3 separate regions of the Homo sapiens genome follow, and regions 1 and 3 are each linked to region 2. Evidence: promoter capture Hi-C in human tissues and cell types (Jung and others, 2019). All regions are on one chromosome and are shown on one strand. The core of a region is centred on a gene start or on the middle of the fragment in contact, and the rest is flanking DNA. Distances in the headings are between cores, read along the strand shown.

Region 1 (3,958 bases), core at 976-3,475, 220 kb before region 2:
TAGTGAATTGACTTCATGTGTTGTATTTTTAAGTTCTAGAATTTTTATTTGGTTCTTTTTGTCATGATTTATCTGCTGACAATTCCTATTTGCTCATTATGAGCATATTTTCCTTTACATCCTGGAGCATGGTTATAATTACTTTAAACATCTTGAATGTTAATTCCAACATGTCAGTCATATCAGAGTCAGTTTCTGTCAATTGCTTCTTGAGCATAGATCACATTTTCTTGTTCATATGTATAGCAGTTTTGAATTATATAATTGCAGAAAATCTGGTGAAGTGTTTTTTTTTTTGTTTTGTTTTGTTTTTTTTACAGCAGGCATTTAACGGCTGAACTCAAGATTTAAAACTTTGATTCCAGCCAGGGACAGTGCCTCATGCCTGTAATCCTAGCATTTTGGGAGGCCAAGGCGAAAGGATGGCTTGAGGCCAGGAGTTTGAGACCAGTCTGGGCAACACAGCAAGACCCCATCTCTACAAATAAAAACCTCCCAAGTAGTTGGTGGTATGTGCCTGTAGTCCCAGCTATTAATACTTGGGAGGCTGAGCTGAGAGGATTGCTTGAGCTTAGGAGATCAAGGCTGCAGTGAGCTATGATTGTACCACTGCACTGCAGTGTGGGTGACAGACACAGACTTTGTCTCAAATTTAAGAAAAGGAAGGCGGCCGGGCTCAGTGGCTCACGCCTGTAATCCCAGCACTTTGGGAGGCCGAGGTGGGTGGATCACGAGGTCAGGAGATCGAGACCATCCTGTCTAACACGGTGAAACCCCGTCTCTACTAAAAAAAATACAAAAAATTAGCCGGGCATGGTGGTGGGCGCCTGTAGTCCCAGCTACTCTGGAGGCTGAGGCAGGAGAATGGCGTGAACCCGGGAGGCGGAGCTTGCAGTGAGCCGAGATTGCACCACTGCACTCCAGCCTGGGTGACAGAGCGAGACTCAGTCTCAAAAAAAAAAAAAAAAGAAAAGAAAAGAAAAGGCAAAACACAAGCAAAAAAAACCCTTTGATCCTCCTCTGGTGGGCAGCAGCTGAAATTTGTCTTTATTTCTTTTGGCCTTAGCTGGGCTGTTTAGAGTCTGCCCTCTGTGTATTTCAGAAATCAGATTTAGGCAGGGCTTATACATGGTATTTTCTGTATTTCATGTATATTTTAAAGTTGTTTTTAGCCAGAGGATTGATTTGAATAACAGCCCAGTATTACTGGGGATCAGAACAGCAGCTGACAGTTGTTTTTATGTTTTTATGGCTTGTTTTAATATCAGCAGTGGGTTGGGTGTGGTGGCTCATGCCTGTAATCCCAGCACTTTGGGAGGCAGGATTGCTTGAGCTCAAGAGTAGGAGGTTGCAGTAAGCTATGGCTGCACCAGTGCATTCCAGCCTAGGCAACACAGTAAGACCCTGTCTTAAAAAAAAAAAAATCAATCAGCAATAGGGTAGTCATAATTTTAACAATGAAATCCAGTTGCTTTGAATGCCTCAAAGATTCTAGTTTAAGCCTGGCTTGCTAGGAGGCATGCATCCTGGTCCCCTCCTCCTAGGAACTCCTAGTTTGTGTGAGGTGATACCCTCTCATGAGTAATGGTCAACACTGCTGCAGCATTATTGGAGAGGAAGGTGTCGGCATGCCCCTTCTGGACAGCAGCTGGGTCAGCCCAGGGCTTGGCAGCCAAAACCCCAGCTCTTTCCTGCCACCTACTAGGGTTGGTGGATCTCCATCTCCAATACGATGCTGTTTGCATGGTCCTTCCCTGTTTACAGAAACTCCCCACAGTTCTGTATGTATGCTAAACAAGTCGTGTCTACAAAACCTGGCTGTGATTATTTTCTCATAATCTGGGCAATGAGCTCAGTCTCTGGAAGCAGGAAGATCTGGGGCAAATTAGCTGCCCTTGAAACTTTGGGTACATAAAATGGATGATAAAATCTGCCGTTACATAATGAGACTGAAGATCTGAGATGACAGGCCACCATTCTGGCCCACAGCATGGAACACACTCTGCAGTTAGGGAGACCCAGGCAGACGCTGTTGCAAGAATCTTTATTTGCTACAGGCAGTGGATGGATTTAAATGTATTTGGAACTAAGAGTAGGATTTAAATGTATTTGGAACTAAGAGTAGGCCCTAGAGCCATCAGTGTTTATGCCTTACCTGTATTTTCTGGGGTGGAGATCATTTCTAATCCTGGGATGAGGATGGAATATAATGATTAGGGACAGTGTTTAGAGCTTATTCTGCCACTTAGCAATTTGTGATCTTGGGGTCTTGGCGAGTTCCTTTGTGACAATGGTGACAGTAATGGCACCTGCCTTTATTAAAGGGCTCTTGGGAGGCATGACTGACACCCGGTGTGTGGCCATCATTGGCTGGGGCTCTCTCCAGCAGATCTCCCCAGATCTGCTTTGACACCCCAGGCCTCTGAGCTTTCTTTAGGTCATGAGTATGTCCCTTCTCCTTGCTTCACGTTCTCCTCAAATGAAGCCTGGCAACTGTGTCCCTGGCCAAATGATCAAGAGGGATGTGGGACAGGACAGGGCTGAGGACGAAGCCCGGGCCCATCCCTTCAAGGTAGCATCAGCTCCTTCATCAGCGACTTTTGGGGAGGGTCATGGGTCATCCCACCAGTTATTGATCTGCTTCATCAGACGGTGCCTCAGCCCTGATTGCTTCACTGTGTCCTGGAGGACTGAGAATTTTCCAAATGCGTGGCTGGAATCTCCTCTTTCACTCTCTCTAGTCTGGCTACTGTCCCTCTCCTATTCAGTGGACTGACCTGAGCCAAGTGGCTTAGAATGACACTGTGTTTTATTTTAACACAGGATAGGAGTTTGGCCCATGAGTCTTTTTTTTTGAGAAGGAGTCTCGCTCTGTCACCCAGGCTGGAGTGCAGTGGTGCGATCTCGGCTCACTGCAACCTTCACCTCCCAGGTTCAAGCGATTCTCCTGCCTCAGCCTCCCGAGTAGCTGGGACTACAGCCATATGCCAGCACACCCGGCTAATTTTGTATTTTTAGTAGAGACGGGATTTCTCCATGTTGGTCAGGCTGGTCTCGAACTCCCGACCTCAGGTGATCCACCCACCTCGGCCTCCCAAAGTGTTGGGATTACAGGCGTGAGCCACCGAGCCCGGCCCTGGCCCATGAGTCTTTTGTTCCAAGGGTGTTCAAGAAAAACCTAGATGTATCAACTAATACAGGCCCACAAAAGACTGACAGAATGGGAGCTTCACAGTGTAGTAAACTTTTCCCTCAAAACAAGCAGTAAGACTTTAAAGTACACTGAAGTTAAAGAGGGCACATGCAGTGTTTATTATGGAAAAAAAAAGTACAGAAAAATAAAAACGTCAACACTGGTTTGTGTGCAGAATCTGGGTAGAGGTTGATCTTCTTGGCCTTAAGAAGCCAAAATGAGGAACTGCATGGGCAGGGTCACCCACCATCCCCCTCTGCATATGGAGCTTTGTGCTAAGGCTTTCAGTGTGTAGAAGAAAATTTCAAGACCCTGGATGGGGGAAATCACCCCTCAGCAGAGGGGAGAGAACCAGTATTCCTAATGATGAACCGGGAGCTGTGGTGGTTTGAATAATGACAGCGTACAGATCTAATGATTTTAACTGTATTCCAACTCTCTGAGCATTGTGTGTGAAATATATGAGAACACAGTAAACCAGAAGAGCGCCTCATATTTACTCAATACTTTCTATGAGGCACCTTCATCCCCATTTCAGATGAAGCAGCTCGGACTCAGGGGGCTCCATCCCTAACCAGAGCCCCATGGTGGCTGTGTGGGGGATGCGCATGACAAATGCCTTCACACTCAGAGCACCACAGAGCAGTCTTCCTCCTGCCTCTCACTGTCCAGGTCATCTCGCATACTCTGCAAGGCTTTACATCACTGAAGACTTTTTTTTTTTTTGGCTTTAGCTGCTCTATTGGCTAGAACAACTCTTCTTCC
Region 2 (4,379 bases), core at 823-3,322:
CTGTCTCTATGGATTTGCCTGTTCTGGACATTTCAGATAAATGGACTCACACACTATGTAGTCTTTAGTGACCACTTTTTCACTTAGCATCATGTTTTCAAGGCTCATGCATGTTGTGGCATGTACTGGAACTCCATTCCTTTATATGACCAAATAATATACCATTGCATTGGCTGGATGCGGTGGCTCATGCCTGTAATCCCAGCACTTTGGGGGGCCAAGGCGAGGGCATCACCTAAGGTCAGGAGTTCGAGACTAGTCTGGCCAACATGGTAAAACCCCATCTCTACCAAAAATACAAAAATTAGCTGGGCGTGGTGGTACATACCTGTAGTTCCAGATACTCGGGAGGCTCAGGCAGGAGAATTGCTTGAACCCGGGAGGCGGAGGTTGCAGTGAGCCAAGATTGCACCACTGCACTCCAGCCTGGGCAACAGAGCGAGACCCCCATCTCAAAAAAAAAAAAAAAGAAAGAAAAAAATATATATGTCTATACCATTGCATGGTCAAGCCATATTTTGTTTATATATTCATCAGGTGATGAATATTTATGTTTTTTCCACTTTTTGGCTCTTGTGAATAATGCTGCTATGAGCATTCACGCACAAGTTTTTGTATAGACATCTGTTTTTAATTCTTTGGGGTTTTGCATTCATTTTAATTTTAAAAACATATTGCATAAAAATGTTATTTACCTTGATGACTGGGTTTTTTGGCATTCCCTTAAAATTTGCACCTGGGCTGCCAGGCATGGTGGCGCACGCCTGTAATCCTAACACTTTGGGAGGCTGAGGTGGGCGGATGGCTTGAGTCCAGGAGTTTGAGACCAACCTGGGCAGCATGGCAAGACCCTGTCTCCACAAAAAATACACACACAAGGCCGGGCACAGTGGCTCACACCTGTAATCCCAGCACTTTGGGAGGCCGAGGCGGACGAATCACTTGAGGTCAAGAGTTCAAGACCAGCCTGGCCAACATGGTGAAACCCCAACTCAATAAAGAATACAAAAAAATTAGCCGGGTGTAGTGGTATGTGCCTGTAATCCCAGCTACTCCGGAGGCTGAGGCAGGGGAATCGCTTGAACCTGGGAGGCGGAGGTTGCAGTGAGCCAAGATTGCTCCACTGCACTCCAAGCCTGGGTGACAGAGTGAGACTCTGTCTCAAAAACACACACACACACAACCCAAACACACACAACACACACACACAAAATCAGCTGGGTGTCGTGGTGCGTGCCTGTAGTGCCAGCTACTTGGGTACTTGGGTGGCTGAGGCGGGAGGATCACCTGAACCCAGGAAGTCAAGGCTGCAGTAAGCCATGATCGCGCCACAGCACTCCAGCCTGGGTGACAAAGTGAGAACATAGCTCAAAAAATAAAAAAATAAATTTGCACCTGAGGCAAGTGTCACACTCATCCCAACTCAGTCTCACCTTGCATGTTTTCTGCCTTGCTGGCTGTATGACCCTGGACAAGTTACTTAACCGCTCAGAGCCTCGATTTCCTCCTCTATAAAATGGGGATAATCTCTGTAACTGCTCACAGTTGGTAGCAGAATGCAATGAAGTGAATTCGCCCTCACAGAGCCAGCACTGTTCTTGGCACATGGTAATCTTAACATATTTTTTCCTACAGGGAGGCCTGGTGTCAGGCCGGGAGTGGGGTGGAAGGGTCCCAAAATGGATGGAAGGGCCCCAAAATGGCCGTGAGCATCCTCTGCCCTTGAGAAGAGCTAGCCCAGCTGTCTAGAGCTCCCTGCTGCTGCCGCTCTCGTAAGCAGCAAGCATTTTTGGCTCTCCTGTCTCAGCATGATGCCCCTACAAGGTTCTTTCGGGGGTGGGACCCAACGCTGCTCTCCTGATGGCCTCCCTGGCTCCCAGCACCTTCCATCCCAGCTGCTCAGGGCCCCTCACCTGCGCCTCCCCCACCCTCCCCTCTGCCCACTCCCATCGCAGGCCATAGCTCCCTGTCCCTCTCCGCTGCCATGAGGCCTGCACTTTGCAGGGCTGAAGTCCAAAGTTCAGTCCCTTCGCTAAGCACACGGATAAATATGAACCTTGGAGAATTTCCCCAGCTCCAATGTAAACAGAACAGGCAGGGGCCCTGATTCACGGGCCGCTGGGGCCAGGGTTGGGGGTTGGGGGTGCCCACAGGGCTTGGCTAGTGGGGTTTTGGGGGGGCAGTGGGTGCAAGGAGTTTGGTTTGTGTCTGCCGGCCGGCAGGCAAACGCAACCCACGCGGTGGGGGAGGCGGCTAGCGTGGTGGACCCGGGCCGCGTGGCCCTGTGGCAGCCGAGCCATGGTTTCTAAACTGAGCCAGCTGCAGACGGAGCTCCTGGCGGCCCTGCTCGAGTCAGGGCTGAGCAAAGAGGCACTGATCCAGGCACTGGGTGAGCCGGGGCCCTACCTCCTGGCTGGAGAAGGCCCCCTGGACAAGGGGGAGTCCTGCGGCGGCGGTCGAGGGGAGCTGGCTGAGCTGCCCAATGGGCTGGGGGAGACTCGGGGCTCCGAGGACGAGACGGACGACGATGGGGAAGACTTCACGCCACCCATCCTCAAAGAGCTGGAGAACCTCAGCCCTGAGGAGGCGGCCCACCAGAAAGCCGTGGTGGAGACCCTTCTGCAGTAAGGAGCCCTGCCCCGTCCCCGCTCCCAGGAGAGCCTAGAGGGGCCCCCCTCAGCTCCTAACGAGCCCCCCTTCTGAGTTGAGTCCCCATGACCTTCAGCCTTTAGCCTAGTTGCTGGGAAGGGGGACAGGGCCCATGAGAGCCCAGGGGTCCTTGCTTGGAGGTTTGAGCCTCCAGCCCCTGAACTGCTCCTCTGCAGAGTCCCAAATCCCATGAGCCCAGGCCTTTAGCCCAGTCCTTGGGCAAGGGGGACATTTCCCAGGGGGGTCCAAGATGGGAGAAAAAGCAGGTGAGTTCACAACTCAAATGCCTGGAGAACTGGGAGGTGGTGGAAATTTTTAGCCACTCTGATCATTTATACTCTCCAGACCCTAACTCCTGCACTGAGTCCTCAGTGGGTAGGCTCCGGGGCCCAGGAAGCACTGCCAGGGAGGAGGGCCCGAAGCTGGGGTTTGGGGGCTTTCCTGGCCTCCTAGGGACTCATGCGTTTAGCCAGGGAAGCCCAGGTCTTTCTTACCTGAGGCAGACAGAGCCTCGAGGTGGGAGCTGCTCCCCTTTCCTGTATGGCCACAGGCACCCCACCTCACCAGCAGGCGCCATTAGAGGCTGCCCGTTCTACATCCCCATCCGCTGGCGGACTCCCCGTCTCCTGGAGAACTGGGTGGGTCCTGAGCTCGATGCCTCCCCTCTCCTCAGCAGAGCTGACCTAGTTACTAATTACCCATGTGCTTTATTATTTCTCTTTTGTTTTATAAATTTATAAATGGCAAAAGGCTCTGATAAGGTCTGTGATCATTAACTTGTAGGAATGGTGGCCTGGAAAGATCTGGGCCAACCCACCTCCCACCTAGTGGGGGTGGGGGATGGGGGTGTGGGGGAGAAGGAAGGATGGCCTGGGGGCTACAGGGGCCACCCCTCCCCAGCGGCTCCCTGACCTCCACCCTACAGCGCCTGCTTGAGGAGGTTCACTACTTCCTGGGCGCTGTGCTGAGGTTTCACAGGAATAATTTCCCTTCATGGTGAGGAGTCCTGGGCAGAAGCTATTGGTGACTCTGCTTCACAAATGGGGAAACTGGGGCTTAGAGCCGGGAAGGAGCTAGACTAAGTTCACCAAACTGAGGCCCCAAACCTACTCTGTTCGGTGCTCTCAATTGCTATGACCGGGGACCAGAGGCCTGCAGGGGGTGGCCAGGGAGTCAGAGAGAGACCGAGCCCCAAAGATGCTCCAAAGGGGCCCATCTCTTTTCTGTCCAAGGTCCTGATCCCAGCTGGGGTGGGGGAGGGCTGGTGGATTCCTGCTTTCCCAGAGGCCTCAGGGAGCCTCCCGAGGGCCTGGACAGGGGGCAGGGGAGCAGTCAGGGCCCCCTGACTTGGCAGGAAGAGGAGGGCAAAGGACTCCAGAGCTGCAGGGGAGGGGCAAAGAGTCAGGCATCCCAGACCCAGGGCGAAGGCAACCTGACGGGGTGGGGCTGGGCCTGACCTGCCCAGGGCCCCAGATGGGACTGGGGGCTTTGGGGTGAGGGTGGGGGCAGGGGATGCTTTCTTACCTGGCTGAGTGAGCTCTCTCGGTCAGCAGCCCCCTTTGGTGGGATGGTGGGGTTGGGGAGGCTTGATCCACAGCATTTGAAGGGGAAGCAGAGGTCAAAGTGCTTCCTAGGGACCAGCAGAGACCTGGAAGCTGAGGCAGAGAGTGTAGAGAGAGGCCATTGGGGGAGATGGACAGAGAAGCTGGGAGAAGCAGAACGGAGGAGCC
Region 3 (4,591 bases), core at 860-3,359, 180 kb before region 2:
TTTTTTTTTTGAGATCTTATATTTTGTAAGACTTTTGTGCACATTAACAAATCTGTATGCCTTTTCTATTAATCTGCTATTTGTCAGTGGATTTTTCAGCGAGGATTCAGGGGGCACAGAGGAAGTTTTCCCTTGGCCCTGTTACACCAAGTAATGGGCTCACTGCTTGACGCGCTACATCTTTCCACATTAGTATATACTGCTTTTTTCTCATAAAAACAAACAAACAAAAAAACCTACAGAGTATTTCTCCCCAAGTAAACTTGATCTGGTATCATTTTTAGATAAGCTGCACATGAGCTGTCTTACTACAGAGAAATATTAAGACCAGCAGGCTTTATAGGTGAATGATATGGTTTAGCCTTGAACTGGGTAAGGTCCAGATGGCCACTGACCCTGTCAGCTAATTAGTGTCAGTTAGAATGACAACTCATCAACATTCTTCAACTTTAAATTGGGTGTAAGTATAAATTCCAGTTTGGTGTTTTGGTCACTTTGATGTACATTTCACATGAAGTTTATTACAGACACTATATCAAGAAGTATATTAATATTCTGTGAGTGCCTTAATAAGATTTTAGTGTGGCTGAGGTAGAGATCTGGTTATATTTGCCCTAAATTTGTTTCAGGCTAGAATTAATTCAGTTGCAAGGAACAGAACTTTAGGAAATCAACTACTCATTTCTTTATGTCCTAGAGTGGATTAAAAAGGATTTTCTGAGGAAGATTCTAGGCCTGCCTTTAGGAACTTCCACTGCCTGCCTCAGGACAAGGGGAAACATGGGCTTATATTTAGGTATTAGGTTCCTTCATTCTGATAAAAATACGAATGCACCATGAGTGCTGTTAAGACAACTAGGTCTGTATTTAGCTGGCAACATAATACATTTTTGGGCTGCTGCTTTTATATATGTATGTATGTATGTATGTGTGTATATATATACATATATATGTATATATATACACATATATGTGTGTGTGTGTGTGTGTATATATATATATATATTTTTTTTTTTTTTCCTTTTTGAGATGGAGTCTCAGTTTGTGGCCCAGGCTGGAGTGCAGTGGCGCAATCTCGGCTCACTGCAACCTCTGCCTCCCAGTTCAAGCGATTCTCCTGCCTCAGCCTCCTGAGTAGCTGGGATTACAGGCATGCATCAACACGCCTGGCTAATTTTTGTATTTTGAGTAGAGATGGAGTTTCACCATGTTGGCCAGGCTGGTCTTGGAACTCCTGACCTCACGTGATCCTCCCACCTTGGCCTCTGAACATGCTGGGATTACAAGCGTGAGCCACCGTGCCTGGTCTGCTACCAATATTTATTAACAGATCAACATTCAAGAATAACCAGTTTAAGAATTAACAGCCCATTCATTCTCCAGATATTCCAAAATATAACCTTAGACCACACTTAGCAGTAAGATGGTTATCTAAACAACAACATCCTGTTGCCCACTGTGCACCTTCAATTTTGGCAAAACTGCTTTTGCTGAAATACATTTTCATGCAATGCCACCAACTTATATTGAAGGTACTACAATTCATTCAACAAACACTTATTTGAATGCCTACTGTGAGATGAATGAACTTAACATTATATCCTCTTTATGAAGGTCGTTAGGATAAAAGTCTGTCTGATCTTAAGGCCAAGAACAGTTGCGATTCACCTGAACAACTGAGTTCTTTTGATGGAAGGAAGCTGAGTTTTACATTCTTTCTTTTTAAATCTGGCTGCTACAAAGCTTATGGTGGTCCTTGTGAAACACTAGTAACAGGAGTGCTGGCATTATGGTATGCATTTTTACATTTCTTTTTTGGCTCTATTTTGTCTCCACTCATACTTTTAGTTTTCTTTGGCCCCATTTTATTTTTCCTTGAAGTAACTTGCAAAAGTTAGTACATGCTCTGAAATCGGGCAGTGAAGAGCACAAATAAACAATTGTAGGAAGCAAAATGGAGGGGAGAGCAGATCAGTTTATTGAAAGTTATACTCGTTCATCCATTTGCATTCTGATACCTGAGGACACTGTGAATTACTGGAGGAGAAAAGCAAATTGGAATTTTTAACCTTAACATTATTTTTTTCTCAGCTCCAGAAAGGAGTGAAAAAATGAAAAAATAATAAAATTTTAATTTATAAAAAATTTTAAAAAGAAAGTTTTTTGATAATTCTACTATTGAAAGTGAGTACAATGAAGCGGGGACTCACTGGTTCAAGGTAAACATTACATGGTTAAAGTTAGGTTAAGTTAAATATGTGTTCCTAGAAAACTTACAGTGGTTTTATAAATTGAACATTTAATAGTGAATTGATGAAATTCTTAAATATATAAAAAAACTTGTCTACACACGCTGCAATGGACAAAATCATTCCCTACGTCATCTAACAAGTTCAGGCTTCTGTGTATGATGTTTTCTTCAAGTAGGACGAGTTATGGAATGACAAAAAGGGTAGCTCAAAAGTTAATCAACATATTACACACAATTAGAACATCATGACAATTGTGAACCATAGTGACACTTGTTCTGGTGAACCATGGTCTAACTACAATTATATGCACTTAGAATGAAGGGCATCACAATCATATCAAGTATAGTTCTTATTAAAGAACTCAGCATCTCTGCAGGCTTACTAACCTGATGTTGTCTTCCTAGAGTAGGTTTGGGTATACGTAAATGAACTGCCCTCATTACCTAAGAAAGCATTGGTAGGTGCTTGCCTTTACAAAAAAGGAACTAGTTACTCTTGAGTTATAATACAAATGACCAAAAACTAACTCAAGAAAATCTAAATAGCCTTTTTTGGACAATGTTAAGACAGAAACTGTTACTAGAGATAAAGAGGAACATTTTATAAAAGTCAAGAAATAGATAACAATTATAAGCATACAGAAAGTGAAAAGACAAACCCAGAGGCACTTATAACAAAAACCCATTTTCACAATAAAGAAAGAACACTCAAAATTCAACAAGAAAAAGAAAACCCAATTTAAAAATGGACAGAAGAGTTGAAAAGACACCAAAGAAGAGACATAGATGGCAAATGGGCACATGAAAAGATGCTCAACATCAGTAGGCATTAAGAAAATGCAAACCAAAATTATAATGAGATACCACTTCATACCCACCAGAACAGTAGAATAGCTATAATCATAAAGATAGATAATAACAAGTGTTGGTGAAGAAGTGGAGAAATTGGAAACCTCATACATTGCTAGTGGGAATGTACAATAGCATAGCTGCCTTGGAAAACAGAAGCATTTCTTAAAATGTTAAGACTAAGAGTTACCATTAGACCCAGCAATTCTGCTACTAGGTATCTGCTTGAGGGCAATAAATATGTTATGTCTGCACAGAAACTTGTACACAAATGTTCACAGTAACATTATTCATAAAAGCCAAAAAAGGGAAACAACCCAAACGTCTATCAGCCAATGAATGGAAAAACAAAAAGTATTATTCAGTAATAAAAAGGAATGAAATACTGATAACATGCTACAACACAGATAAACTTCAAAAACATGCTAAGTGAAAGAAGCCAGTAACAAAAGGTCACATACTGTATGACACCACTTATACGAGAGGTCCAGAATAGGCAAATCTATAGAGATAAAAGGTAGATTCATGGTTGCCTAGGGCTGGCGGGCAGGGAAAGAGGAATGGGAATGACTGCTAACTGGTACAAATTTTCTTTTGGGATGATAATGTGCTAAAATTGGATTACAGTGACGGCTGAACAATTTTGTAAATAAACTAAAACCCACTGAATTGTATACTTTAAGTGACCAAACTTTATGGTATTTATCTCTCAATAAAGCTGTTAAAATATACTATATAAATTAAATGGACAAAAACCACAGGATCAACTCAATAGAAGCATAAGAACACATGATAAAATCCAATACCCATTCATGATAAAACTCTCCACAAACTAGAAATAAGAGAAATTTCTTCAACCTGATAAAGGGCATTTATGAAAAATGTACAACTAACTACATACTTAATGGGAAATGCTTTCCCTGAAGGATTAGGAACAGGGCAAGGATGGATGTGTGCCTTTGGCACTTCTATTCGACACTGTACAATAAGGGAGAAAAAGGGAAAAAGACAAAGTCTTTCAGAATTGAAAGCAGCAGCAAAACTGCCTTTATTTGCAGACCACATCATCCTATGTGCAGAAAATTCTAAGGAATCATAGACAAAAAACTACCAGCACTAATAAATGAGTTCAGCAAAGCTACAGTATTTGAGGTCAATACACAAAAATTAATTGTAGTTCTATATACTTAGCAATGAACAATCCAAAATGAAGAAAAAAATTCATCAAAAATAACATCAAAAAGTAAAAAAATACTTAGGAATAAATTTAACAAAATAGTGCAAGCCTTGCACACTGAAAATTACAAAACACTATTAATAGAAATTAAAGAATATCTAAAACATCTAAATTAAAGAATATCTAAATAAACGGAGACACATTCCACATCCATGGATTGGAAGTGAACATCATTAAGATAGCAATTTTCCTCAAACTGATCTATAGATTCACAATGCCTATCGAAATCCCTGCAGGCTTTTTTTTTTTTTTTT

Evidence for each region. The method cuts DNA at HindIII sites, captures the fragments that hold promoters and counts their contacts. A contact is called where the count stands out against the background at its distance.
Region 1: a fragment that was not itself captured here is called in contact with the fragment with the promoter of HNF1A in region 2 in 1 of the 25 tissues and cell types used here (stomach).
Region 3: a contact is called between a fragment that was not itself captured here and the fragment with the promoter of HNF1A in region 2, in 5 of the 25 tissues and cell types used here (H1 embryonic stem cells, dorsolateral prefrontal cortex, lymphoblastoid cells and 2 more).

Annotation. Positions count from the first base shown.
Region 1 is chr12:120,755,579-120,759,536 of GRCh38, forward strand. No RefSeq gene overlaps it. Among named protein-coding and RNA genes, the nearest start is that of ACADS, 32 kb to the left of the region's middle. The HindIII fragment of the contact is 6,965 bases long and covers 1-3,958 here.
Region 2 is chr12:120,976,471-120,980,849 of GRCh38, forward strand. HNF1A (HNF1 homeobox A) reads left to right here and starts at 2,073. Exons shown (of 10, transcript NM_000545.8): 1 at 2,073-2,624. The coding sequence starts at 2,299. The HindIII fragment of the contact is 9,653 bases long and covers 1-4,379 here.
Region 3 is chr12:120,801,427-120,806,017 of GRCh38, forward strand. All of the region lies in intron 2 of SPPL3 (signal peptide peptidase like 3), which reads right to left. Among named protein-coding and RNA genes, the nearest start is that of ACADS, 78 kb to the left of the region's middle. The HindIII fragment of the contact is 8,897 bases long and covers 1-4,591 here.